4 separate regions of the Homo sapiens genome follow, and regions 2, 3 and 4 are each linked to region 1. Evidence: promoter capture Hi-C in 16 types of primary human blood cells and fetal thymus (Javierre and others, 2016). All regions are on one chromosome and are shown on one strand. Each heading gives the region's core, a stretch centred on a gene start or on the middle of the fragment in contact. The rest is flanking DNA. Distances are from core to core; before and after follow the strand shown.

What was found. The method cuts DNA at HindIII sites, captures the fragments that hold promoters and counts their contacts. A CHiCAGO score of 5 or more calls a contact.
Region 2: a fragment that was not itself captured here is called in contact with the fragment with the promoter of PCDHB7 in region 1 in 2 of 17 cell types (M1 macrophages and M0 macrophages); the score reaches 7.9 in M1 macrophages.
Region 3: a fragment that was not itself captured here is called in contact with the fragment with the promoter of PCDHB7 in region 1 in 2 of 17 cell types (M0 macrophages and M1 macrophages); the score reaches 5.0 in M0 macrophages.
Region 4: a fragment that was not itself captured here is called in contact with the fragment with the promoter of PCDHB7 in region 1 in 4 of 17 cell types (M0 macrophages, M2 macrophages, M1 macrophages and 1 more); the score reaches 7.7 in M0 macrophages.

The regions. Positions count from the first base shown.
Region 1 is chr5:141,170,922-141,174,228 of GRCh38, reverse strand. PCDHB7 (protocadherin beta 7) reads right to left here and starts at 1,585. Exons shown (of 1, transcript NM_018940.4): 1 at 1-1,585. The coding sequence starts at 1,393. It also overlaps PCDHB@. The HindIII fragment of the contact is 10,030 bases long and covers 1-3,307 here.
Region 2 is chr5:141,287,575-141,290,881 of GRCh38, reverse strand. No RefSeq gene overlaps it. Among named protein-coding and RNA genes, the nearest start is that of SLC25A2, 15 kb to the left of the region's middle. The HindIII fragment of the contact is 1,340 bases long and covers 1,057-2,396 here.
Region 3 is chr5:141,271,115-141,274,421 of GRCh38, reverse strand. No RefSeq gene overlaps it. Among named protein-coding and RNA genes, the nearest start is that of PCDHB15, 27 kb to the right of the region's middle. The HindIII fragment of the contact is 9,791 bases long and covers 1-3,307 here.
Region 4 is chr5:141,248,597-141,251,903 of GRCh38, reverse strand. PCDHB15 (protocadherin beta 15) reads right to left here. Exons shown (of 1, transcript NM_018935.4): 1 at 2,539-3,307. It also overlaps PCDHB@. Among named protein-coding and RNA genes, the nearest start is that of PCDHB15, 4.9 kb to the right of the region's middle. The HindIII fragment of the contact is 3,908 bases long and covers 1-3,307 here.

The sequences.
Region 1 (3,307 bases), core at 336-2,835:
TGTTGTTCTCACGGACAAACAGGGTGTAGGAGGTTTGGGTGAAGGCGGGAGCGTTGTCATTGACGTCGGAGACCAGCACGGTTATGTTGTGCTCGGTTTTCAGCCTGGGTGTCCCCAAGTCGGTGACGGTGATGGTGATGTTGTACTCAGTGTTCCTCTCTCGATCCAAAGGTTTCTCTGTTACCAGAGTATAGAAGTTTTCGACAGATGGCTTCAGGATGAAGGGGACATCGTCCTGGATGGAGCACACTGTCTTTCCATTGTTCCCGGAATCTCTGTCTCTAATCCTAAAAACAGCCACGACTGTCTCGGGTGAGTTTTCTGCAATTGGGCTAGTAAGTGAAGACAGGAGCAGCTCGGGTCGATTATCGTTTATATCTGTTACATCAACCACTACAGTGCATTTTCCAGAAAGCCCGCCGCCGTCTTTGGCCTGAATAGTTAATGTGTAAGTTTGAATTGCCTCATAGTCCAATTGCGCTTTAAGATGAAGACTGCCAGATGTTGGATTGATTTGAAACGTTTTGAGAATTCTTTCAGTGGCGTAAGAAAATGCATAGGCTATTTCCCCATTACTTCCGGTATCTAAATCTCTGGCTGACACGGAGACAACCATGGAACCAACGGGGCTATTTTCGGGCACCTGCACCTTGTAGAGCGACCGCACAAAATCAGGGGCGTTGTCATTTACGTCTAGAACCAGAATGCGCACGAGGGCGGTCCCTGATCTTGGAGGAGAGCCGCCGTCTAAAGCGGTGAGGGTTAAACTGAACTCTGGTATCTCTTCCCGATCCAGCACTTGATTCAGCACCAATTCGGGATAGATATTCCCCTCCCCGCTATCATGGACATTAATATGGAAATAGGCATTGGGGCTGATGGTGTAGTTACTCAGGCTGTTGGTTCCAACATCTGAATCCTGTGCACTCTCTAGGAGAAATGCCGCCCCTGGAGTGGTACTTTCTAATATTTTCAAGGAAATCTCTCTGTCTAGAAATACTGGAGCGTGATCATTGATGTCTCTGACCCATAGTTCAGCACGGAAAATCTGAAAAGGTTTTTCCAATAACAACTGGAAAGGCAGCACACAGGGCTCTCTGGGGCCACACAGTTCCTCTCGGTCCAATTTCTCATTTAGAAGTAGATCACCAGTAAGCGAACTGAGCAGTAAAATTTGCATGTTCTGGTCTGAAACAATTCTAGTTCCCCGGGCTCTCAGTTCCCCTACCCCTAACCCTAGGTCTTTTGCCAAGTTGGTAAGAAAGGTGCCTCTCTCGGTTTCCTCCGCCACAAAATACCGAAGCGGTTCGGCGCCAGCCCAAGACATTCCCAGAAATACACAAAGAAATAAGACTTGCCTTTTCTGCACAGCACGCTCCACTCTGGCCTCCATTCTTCTTTGGATCAGTCTTTCAAAATGACTTTCACTCAGCCTCCAGCGGCTCTCACAAATGGCAGCAGCGGAATCCTTTGAAATGAGCTGAATAATAGCAATGTTTGTGGGGAAGGATCCTCATTTTACCCCAATTCCTATTACCACTGTTTCCTTTCCTATGCTTTTCTCTTCAGATTGCCTCTTTGCTCTGGAATCTGTAACATCCTTTCTTTGTGAAATTATTTTTCTCTCTCTCTTTTTAGCCAGCAGCGCCACCTTGCGTTTTGTGGATGTTATTCCCGTTATCAAGACTAGAACAAAAAGATGGCGGATTGAAGGAATTCTGCAACAAGAATGATTTGTCCCCGGTATCTTTGCTGTTTCATTCCATCTTTATCCTCAAATGGTCACAGTAATGCTAGTAAGTAATAGCTGATGTCGTTTTCCCCTGTGATAATCTGGATTCGTAGAAGAATTAATTTATAGTCTTCTTAAATCTAGGAGCATGAAACTAAACTCTGACTCCCCACCGAAATCCTAAGAAAATCTCCTATTTTAAAAATGGATAGTAAAAATATATATGAGAAAATGAAACCTCCTCCTTGAAGTCAACAAATATTGGTTGGGGACATTTTATTTATTTGTAAAGTATTTAACAATAATAATGTGAATATGGCAGAATAATTGACCCTTTTCCCAATTTCTTGTGAATTAAACAATTATTCCACTTTCCAGGTCTTAACTCTTTACCTGTGATATTTCTTGGAACACTTTATGCCTCCCCCAAACCCAACCTTCATCCTTCACCTGATTTAAGTATTACATAAGAAATTATTGTTCCTCTATAATTTCAGTGACTAGAATCTCCAATGTCCAATGAATACTCTTAAAATTAGTAGTAGCAAGTTGGTCAATCTTGCATTTGTGGAAGTGCTTCTAGCATTTCATCTTCAACTATGATGGTTGATCTCAATTTGGGGTAAATATTCCTTTTTTGAATCAATAAAGTTTTCTTTTTATTCTTTCATATTTTGAAGTGATTTTTGATAGCTGTTGAAATAATACATTTATTCTTTAGTTTCTAAATTACTGAGTTATTGATATAAATGACATTTAACCATAATGTATTATTGTTTTAGTGCACAGATAGATATGATGTGTCAACATGGTTTTAGGATTTTTCTAGTTAATGTTGTTTACCTAGTGCGTGTTTGCCTTTTATGGCCTTGGTATTAAACTATTATACTGGCATCATAGAATGTGTTAGGGAGCTTTTTATCTATTTTATACAATAGTTTTAATAATTATATTATTATATGTTTCTACATGCTTAATTCCAGCTTGTCTTTTAAACTGGTTGGGTTTGGTGACTTCACTTGCAGTAGATCAGTGACTACCATTTACATTTTACCTTTGGTTATTAATCTGTTCAGGTTTTGTATTTTTAAGTAACTTGCATTTTATTTTGAAAATCATTTTATCTAGTTTGCAAATTTCTTGGAATTGTTTTCATTGCGTTATTTACCTTTAATTGTATCCCTATTTTTATTAGTGATGTTTAGCATTTTAACTCCTTTTTATTCTTGGTGAGACTTGCAAGAGCTCTACTTTACTGATATTTTGAAATGCATTTTTTTCAAAATAATATATGACCTTGGTCCAAAATTAAATAGCACTAAGAGGCTTGTTCTGCCCTTTTCCTCCTCACTTTTCTTAGTTCCCCTTCTAAGAGGTAGCCATTTTAAAACTCTTTTAGTTATCTCTTCAGTCACTAATCTGTTTTCTGATATATTTTGATTAATTAATTTTAGAAATTATCAATTGACTGTTTATTATGTTAGATTACATTTTAGGTATTTTAGATTTTCTTTTACTTACCATATATTGGGAACATTATTGTGTATTAATTATGTTTTCTTTTTCAATTTTTTT
Region 2 (3,307 bases), core at 477-2,976, 120 kb before region 1:
CAAAGAGACTGTGCCTCTTTCTTAATGGTAAGAAATGCAAGTGATAATGACTTATATTTTATCTCAGAGGGCATTTCTTTGCATGCCCAAGAACCCTAGAATCATTACTGATATGACAGTCACCTGAATATTCATAGGGTTAATATTTTACTCTTTGACATGCTAGACCATCTAGGGTCCTTGTTACTTACTACTCACTACTCACTGGGTCCAATTAGAATCATGTCATCTATGCAGTGATCTAGCATTATGTTCTATAGAATGTTCAATGTTGAAATATTTGTGGAGTACATTATGAAAGAAAGCAAGAGAGTTAACATAGCTTTGTAATAAGATAGTTGAATGTGTTCTGTTTTCTTATCATGAGAAGATGACTGCTTTTGATTTTATTCCCTGGTGGAATTTAAGACAAGTGCGTTCACCAGAAAAATAGCCACCTACCAAGTTGCCAAAGTTATACTGATCTACTCCAATAAAGATACCACATCTGGCATGACAGCTGCAATTGGAGCTACCATTTGGTTAAGTAAGTATATTGCAGTCCATTGTCATCACAACAATCTATCTAGTTTTTGCAGAGGGTGAACAAATGAATTAAATGAGAATTTGATGAGGACTATCACCTCTGTGCACTTTAAGCCTCAGGAGGTAGTGTTAATCTCTAAAAATCCTCCTAGGATGCAGCATTACTTATGATTTACTATCTTGGCTAGGGAAAGGGACATTTCAGGGTTTCCACTATAATGTGTCTTACTCTCTTATTTGTCAGAGAATAAATACAAAGGTTTGGCGTCAGAGGGTCCCAAGACCCCAGGTTTGGTAATTTTCTAAGACTCACAAAACTCAGCATGTAGTCATACTCGTGGCTATGATTTGTTACAGTAAAGGGATACAAGGCAAACTCAGCTAGGGGAAAAGGTATATCAGATAAAGTCTGGAGGAAACTAGGTATAAACTTCCAAGAATCCTCTCCCATTGGAGTCACACAGAATATGATTAAATCCTCCAGCATCAAATTGCACCAACAGGTGTAAAGTGTTATCTACCAGGCAAGCTTGCCTAAACCTAGGAATCCAGGGTTTTTATTGGGGACTGGTCATGTGGGCCTCTTCTGCCTAGTAGGTAGCAAAATCCCAGATTCCCCGAAGGAAAGCAGGTGTTCAGCATAAGCCACGTTGTTTGTATATACAGTTTAGGCACAGCAAACCACTTTTATCAGTTATGAAATGATGCAGACAATCTCAGAATCCAAGTCCCAAATGCAAGCCAAGGGCCTACCTTGTAAGCAGGGCCTTCGACGGCTTAGTAGTCTCAGGTCTGTTATATTAACTCTTTTCTTCTACCCACTTGGTCATTGTCCAAGGCATTTTTTACAAAAAGATTATTATCAATAGGATCCCACATGGCAGGGTGAGATCAGCCTACATTATTGGCCTCAGTTATGTCCTCCATGGCTTCTAGATTTGGCCAATTAAAACAAATCCTGGGAACAGGCACAGTGGTTCACGCCTGTAATCCCAGCACTTTGGGAGGCCAAGGTGAGTGGATCACCTGAGGTCAGGAGTTCAAGACTAGCCTGACCAACATGGTGAAACCCCGTCTCTACTAAATACAAAAAATTAGCCGGGTGTGGTGGCACATGCCTGTAATCCCGGCTACTCGGGAGGCTGAGGCAGGAGAATTGCTTGAACCCAGGAGGCAGAGGTTGCAGTGAGCCAAGATTGTGCCATTGCACTCCAGCCTGGGCAACAAGAGTGAAACTCTGTCTCAAAAAACAAAACAAAACAAAAAATCCCATTAACCATAAAGGTCTATCTTAGAAAGCCAGGTGTCTTTCTCCTTTAGTTTTTATATTAACCTTTTTTTTTCTTTTAATCTGGCCCAAGGCATCAACTCAGGCACAGCACATCTCTGACCAGTAAGTTAAAGTTAATCCGAATGCCTTGTAGGGCTGAGACAGTGTCATGATAGTCAGGGTACCCACAAAAGAAATATAAGCCCAGAGGGCACACACAGTACCCCTGGAAACAATGAGTTTACAGTTGTTAGGACACCCCAAGCAGGACATACAGTAGTCAGGCAATAAGGTTAAGAAGACCTCTAATGTAACCTTCCACTGTGGGCCCTCCTGCTCCAGGATTCTCAGTGCAGTCCAAATAACACAGGTCAGTCCTTAGATTCATAACGACTGCCTGAGGCAGTCAGTTCCAAACAGTTTTGTTCATGCATAATATCACTTCATCCATCTCATAAGTGTGGGTGACATCTGGAAGTGTTCCTCTGCCGTCTCATAGTCACCTGTGACCATGGGCTCAGCAATCTGTTTGAATTCAGAGTGCTCGCAGCAGCTTGGAAAGCCAGCATGGGGACTTCTCCTTCAAGAAGGGGGTAAAGCTTCCAGGAGCAGTTCTGAAAAACAAAAATCATTAACACCCTAACCTCTCCCTGTGCCTCCCAGGGGCTGGGTGTGGTTTCTCCATTGTTACAAAATCAGTGTGTCCCATTCACAATTATAACTTTATATTTTCAATCATCTCCTACTCACTAGGGCCTTTCATCCAGAAGGGTTATAAGCAAGAGGGAAAAAAGCATTTTCACAGAAAAACATTTTTACACAACTTAAGCAGAAAGACACATCATGGTAAGGAATTGGTCACAATGACCTGAATTTTCTAAGATTTTTCAAATTAAGTTTACACAGACTCTTATCCCTTTAGTCACAATCATTTATCCAGTGGCCAGCCTACCATCCCAGAGAAGAGCAGTTCCTTTTTGGGGACAGCTGCATTTAACAATCAAATTGTCTTAATATTCCAGTAAAAAGGTGAAGGAAGTAGATTCAGGCTGTAAGTCAATTGTTGCAAGTTGCAACCAATCCAGAAATCTAAACACAAATCTACAGCAGTGGGACTTTCTCCAGAGGAGGTCCAGAGTCTGATCTGTCAGGAATGGGGAGAGGGGTTACAGTCACTGTGATGTGCCCAGTCCTAAAGTGCAATTAGGAATGCAACCAGTCTCTGTATATCTCTCTGTATCAGAAATATAGAGCCAATCAGCACCTCAATTTTAGATGGCTCCATCAGAGAATAACCCCTTTCCCATGGGCATCTGACCACCATAGATGGTCCAGCCAGTATTTATGACGTTTTCATTAAGGCCCCACAAAGAGGTATCTTAAATCTGCAACAGTTGCAGAATCTATGTTCTGTTTATTGAGACTATGCCTGCTTTCAGTTTAGCACAGCTCATTCTGAGACTGAAATGGTCCATCAGAAGATAGTCAGATTTTAGCTTAGAGTCAGGTCCA
Region 3 (3,307 bases), core at 357-2,856, 100 kb before region 1:
ACCGAGTAAACAAGATCCATCTTCACCAGTGCGGGCAGGCATCATCCAATCTCTTGAAGCCCTGCATAAGACAAACAGGCTAAGGGGGAGCGAATTCTCTCCTTCTCTTTTTTAGCTGGGACATCCATCTTCTCCCACCTTTGGATAATGGGGCTACTAGTTCTTGGGCCCTGGGACTCTGGGACTTATGTCACTGACTTCCCTGGCCCTGAAGTTTGCAGTCAGCAGGTAGTGAGACTTCTCAGTCTCCATAGTTGTGTGAGCTGATTTTCATAATAAATCGCACAGCCACCCCCTCTACACACTTCCCCCTATCGTAGGTTCTGTTTCTCTAAGACCCCAAACTTAAGAATGTAAATTTTCCTAGGCTTTCTAATCTCTTCCTCTACTGTCTGCCATGAGAATTCTGGTTATTTTGATTTAACTTAGTGTGTGCCATCACTTTTTGATGCTTCTAGAAGTCATACTAATAGTGTTTATTCCATATAAATGCTTGTCAGAGTGTTAATTCCTATGTCTCCCAAATCAATAAACTCTTATCTAATCTTATGCTCCAACTGCCTTAATTGAGCAACCTCAGAATCCAGTACCAGGAGCATTCCCCTGGCTCCTGCTGGTATATGCTATCTAGGACTTGTAGCTCTTTTAGGGTAGAGCTCTTTTACTCCCTCATTAGGCTTAGCATATCTACAGGGTTATGCTGTGAGCTAACTCTACGTGAGTTTAGTGGCCGAAAGGGGAGGTAGAGGCAGATTTTGAGGGTAATATATATTGTCTTATAGGGAAGAAGCCTCTGCATATCTTTGAGGAAAGGGCTATCTTTTAATAAGGAGGAGTGGACCACTTCTGCAGGCTCACAGGGTCAAGGAAAATCTTGAAATTAAAGATGCAGGGGATATTGATCCCTATATTCTCATCTTATGACTCAGGATACCATCTTTTCCCAAATGGAGCCCTCAGTCTGGCACAGTAGACTTGTCTAGGAGTTAACCTTATCAGGAACTTAGCTAATCTGACAGTTATATATCCTGGCCTTGTCCTCAGCTTTCTCTGCCCTCCTTCTGTAGGAAATAGAAGCCTCTTTTTACTCCACCTAGGAATCATGCTGGCTTTTATGTCTGGCTTTCAATTTCTGTTAATTACTCTCAAGTCAATTGAATTTGGCCATAGACACACATTCCCATTGTCCATATGGCTACTTTTTGCTGACTGTTTCTCAAATGCCCTGTAGATCGAAACAGTTAATGCATTCTCTTCCACTAGCGGAATTCACTATCCCAGTTCACCACCAGTGAAAATTTTAACAACTGGACTGCCACCTTGTGGCAGGAGCTGTGTTCCACCTACTACTAGTTATAGGGCCCTTATTTGCCAGCTGAGAAATGATTCAGCTTGAAACCCCCATCTTATTGCCTGCTTTCTAAGACAACTCCCATTACCAATAGTTACATAATTCCCTGGGAAGCAGGCTACGAGATGGAGTTTATTGAAAAAGATGTTTATTAGGGTGTACCCTTGGGATTACCACCAGTTGAAGAAAAGGGGAAGGAAGTAGGCAGAGGGAAAAGTCCAACTATGATGCAGTTCCTACTATAGCCTTGCTAACCCCACCAGGAGCTTAGAAGCCAAAATGAACCTTTAGAGTTGTTCCACATTGAGCCAACATGGCTGGAACTTCATACCTTTGTCTTGATCTGCCATTAAATGCAGGATGCCCCAGGAAGGGCATGACCTTAGATGAGGCAGATGTGTGTAACTGAGGACATCCCTGAGGATTCTGACAGCTGAACTCTGTCTACTGATAACACTCCTAGCACTTAGGCAAAAGGACCTCCTTGAAGATGGATGGGGTGGTACATCTCCATGTCCATTAAAAACATTTTTTAGGCTGAGTGCAGAGGCTTACACCTGCAATCCCAGCATTTTGGGAGGCCGAGGCAGGAGGATCACTTGAGCCCAGGAGTAGAAGGCCAGCCTGGGTAATATAGTGAGACCCCCATCTCTACAAAAAAAACCCAAAAAATTAGTCAGGCATGGTGGCACGCACCTGTGATTCTAGCTACTCAGGAGGCTGAGGTGGGAGGATCACTTGAGCCCTGGAGGTTGAGGCTGCAGTGAGCCATGGTCACACCACTGCACTCCAGCCTGGGTGTCTCTGTCTCAAAAAAACCAAACAAAATAAAATGGGGAAAAAAGCCTTTGTTTTTCCCCACAGAGCTCAGGGAAACATTTACTTATGTTTACTGGTTTGTTATAAAGGATGTTCCAAAGGATACAGAAGCGATGCATAGGGCAAGGTATAGGAGAGGAGGGGAGCAGAGCTTCAATACCCTACCAAGGCACACCACCTTCCAGGAACCTCCTAGTTTGCCAGGTTTGCAGCTATTCAAAAGCTCCCCAAACCCTGTCCTTTGGGAGTTTTAACAGAGGCTTCACTACATAGGCATGATTGATTAAACCATTGATCATTGGTGATCAACTTAACCTTCAGCACCTCTCCTCTTCCTGGAGGTTGCAGGGTGGGAAAGTCCTAACCCTTTAACCCTGTCTTAGTCTTTTCTGTGACCAGCCCCCAATTCTGAAGCTGCCCAGGGGCTTCCAGCCACCAGTCATCTCATTAGGATACAAAGACATCACTCTGGAGTTTCTAAGGATTTTAATAGTTGTATGCCAGGAAATGAGGTCAAGGGCCAAATACATAATTCATGATATCACAGTCTACCTCCGATGTGTAATTCCTTACTTAAAAAGACGTACAACTCAAAAGACACTGCCACATTACTAGAATCTTATTCAATTATTAATAATTAGTTCAGTCCATTATCATATTGTATGAATTTGTATCCCAGGGTGAGGCCACTCAAGTTTGCAGGATTTTCATTGATCTTATCAGGTTCTAAAAGCAGCAGTGGTCTTGGCTTCACCCTGTAAGACACCTGGTATAATTGAACTAAGAGACAATGTCATCTCTTGCTCTGAGCCTTTTTCAAGGTGTTAATGTAATGTGATACTAGATTTATCTGAATTCATAACCCATTTATTCCTTTATTCTCAGCTGCTCTTCTTTCTTCACTTCATTAATAAGCGTTGCAAAGGACATTAGAGTCAACACTGTGCTGGTCTAGATTGTAGGCATCACTACTGGTAATTACCTTCTCCTTAGTCCATTTCCATTCAGATAGGCTAAGTTTATGTAGGTGCCAAATTATTGCACCATTTTTACCACCAGGCAGTATAGCTGCATTCACTGTTAACCCCAATTTTGCACAACCCACTCCCATCAGGCCCTTAGCAATTCTGATATGAG
Region 4 (3,307 bases), core at 310-2,809, 78 kb before region 1:
AAGCAAGGAAGGGAAATAAAGCAAGACGGTCAATGGCCTTAGATTAACATCATAAAAGGCAAGGTGAGACTTACAGAAATCTCAAAAGAAGTCTACAAAATCTGAAAGAGAAAATAGGTAAAATGAATGGCTCTGTTTATGTTGATGAGAGTCTCTATTCTGCTAGTTTCCAAAAAACTTATTTCACTGTCCTTAATTTTTTTATTCACTAAGAAACAATGAATTGTCACTCATGTTCAAAATTGTTCTAGGTGCTATGCATGACATAGAGGAGAATTGGAACTTATCCTTCAAATAGCCATAATCCACAAAAACACATGGACTGCTGATCTGCTTATGAATATTTTCAGGATCCATATTTAGTCAATTTTACTAAGTAAAATTTTTAGCCTTGCTACTTATTGCCTGTGATGGGGGCAGGGTATTCTGGATTGCTGCATAAACATCTTAGTCATCTTGCTCAGGATACCGTTAAGTCCAGATGTAAAAGCGTGCCTCGCATTTATCCGTTCACTTTCTGATTCTGTTCTCCAAAGTCAGCTTTTGAAGATGCTACTAGCCAGGAATATTTCTTGAAAATTCAGTTATTTGCATATGTTTGCCAGTTGTGAGATGATTGAATGATGGCATAAATTTAATTGCAGTAGTTCAGAGTACTGTCCCTTGATAACACCCCAGGGAAAACAATATGACTGATTCAAGACAGGCAAGGCCCCAAATTAGGGCTTATCCCAGGAGGCCTTTTGGCTTTACACATAAAAGAATTCAAGGGCAATCAGGTGTTATTAGACAGCAATCTTTTATTAAAAGGGACTGCTCCTTGCTGAGCAGGACTAACTATTTTGCAGTGCACCCAGAGTTGGCAGTAGCAGCTTATGGGTTGTTGGCAACTGTATTTATACTCACTTATACCTATTTTCACTTACATGCAAATTAAGAGGTGAGTTAATGCAAATTGAGGAGCTGGTTATTCAGAACTTTCTAGAAAAAGGGACAGTAACTTCCAGGTTGTTGCCATGGAAAAGGGCAGTAACTTCTGGGTTGCCATGACATTTGTAAATTGTCATGGGGCTGGTGGGAATCTCTTATGCTAATGAGCAGTAAGGGCAATTAGAGGTTGCCTTCAACACCAGCTGCTACTTCCTGCAGGGTTTTTCACTTCAGTTGTGCACCACCTGCTGGTTCCTGTCAATTTCTTCATTTTGTCCTGTTCTGATAGGGGAATAAGTCCTGCTGATCTCCTACCTCATTACTTCTCTGACAAATGCCTCATACATTTTAAGTAGACAACTTGGAACCTAGTCTGGCAACTGTGTAAAAAAGTAAAAGTAAAAAAAAAAAAATCACCTGCACCAATGAATGTGGCAATACATCCAGGGAAACTCCTGCTTTCAAGGCTTGGGACTAATCCTCTGTGTTTTGAGAGCTGTACTCTCTGGACTTCAGGCTCCATCCTCTGATGCATCCTTCCTTTTTCATTGGAATTGGCACATGTTTTTAGCTAAGCAGTTTTATCAGTCTATTTCTAGCTTACAGAGTTTGGGGAGGGGGGTACCACATCCTCCTTTAATTAGTTCTCTCTATCCCTTTCAATTCAAGCTGGCAGTGTTTCTGCTGATTAAACATTCTCAATAACCTTATTTCCTGTGCATTTCACAGGGATTCAATTTATTAAACAAGAGACTCCTTCGAAGTTATTTCCTGAGTAATTATGTCTATATTCCTGGCTTCTGCTGATGTGGCTGAAGATATCCATGTCATGTACCTAGTCTCTTCAAAGAGCCTTCTGTATGATTGACTACCTGATTCTTTCAACGCACTAGTAAAAGGTTGTCCTGATATGTCTGTGGCTTTCTCTCCAAAACATGCATCCTTAGCAGTGAATCTCCTGATCTTAACATCTGTTGCAGTCTGAATAGGGTGAGAATTTCCCCAACCATCAAGTCTGGGTTCCTTTTTGCTTCACAGTTCTTCTCTCAATCTAATTCCTCTCATTCTTTTCCCTCTCACATTTTACTATAAGCAGCAAGAAAAAAACAGGCTGTACATTTAACCCTTTGCCTGAAAATCTCAGTGAAATCTCCCAAGTTCATTGCTTAAAAATTCTTTCTACATAACTACAGGACACAATTCAGCTAATTTTTCTTCCACCATATAAAAGGATTCCCTTTTCTTCAGTTTCCAATAATATTTTCCTCATTTCTGCACCCTCACCAGCAGAGACTTTAACATCCATATTTCTACTCACAATCTATTTAAAGTGATGTGGTATTCTCTAAGGCAACATGTTTCTCCAACATGCTCCTCACTTCATTCTGAGTCCTTACTAGCAGATTTGTTAACACCATATTTCTGCTAACACTCTGTCCAAAGCAAGCGAGGCTTTTTCTGTCATGCCTGTCAAAGTTCTTCCAGCCTCTGCCCACTGTCCAATTCAGAAGCCATCTGCACATTTTAAGTGTTTATTACAGTAGCACCCCACTTCCAGGTATCAAAATCTGTGTTAGTTGGAGTTCAGCCAGAGAAACAGGCAGCAGATGTGTAGTAATCAATTTATTGCAAGGAAGTGACTTACTCAGTTTTGAAACGTGGCTGGACAAGTCCAAAATCTGTACAGCAGGCAGTTAGGAGGGGCAGGCTGGAATTCTGGGGCATAAGCTGAAGCTGCTGTCCTTAAACAAAATTTATTTTCATCTCACGGAAGACTCAACTCTGCTTTTATGGCCTTTCCACTGATTGAAATAGACCCACCCAGATTATCTAGGAGAGTCTCCCTATTTTAAGTTTAGCTGATTGGCAACCTTAATTCTGTTTGAACCTTAATTTCTTTGCAATATAACATATTCATAGGTTCTGGGGATTAGGGCAGGAACATCTTGGCGGTCATTATTTTGCATGCAATACCATTCTAGAGTATCTGCAAAGTTGAGAAGCTCCTGGAGACAGAAAAGTCCTGACAAGAGAGCAGATGTTTTTTCCTCAAATAATTCAACTCCTTCACCAACATATCCTTTAATAAATTTTGTTTGGTTAACTAATATTAATTCTACAATGTATTTTCTTTCAAATTCCTTATGAATCAGAACAATGTTGCCATCCAAAACAAGTAGATGTTGGCATACTGTACCATCAGAAGCTCCTCTAAGCCCAGAATTTGGAACTCGTTAAGATTTTCCTGCTGTGAAAAGAGGAAATTGCAGGAGATGCATTACTTGGTCCTAGTGTCTATTGGCCTTATACGAACACCTTAAACACAGTAAATCTGGGTATTAGAAAGCCTGTCCAGTCCCCCCAATAGGATCATAAC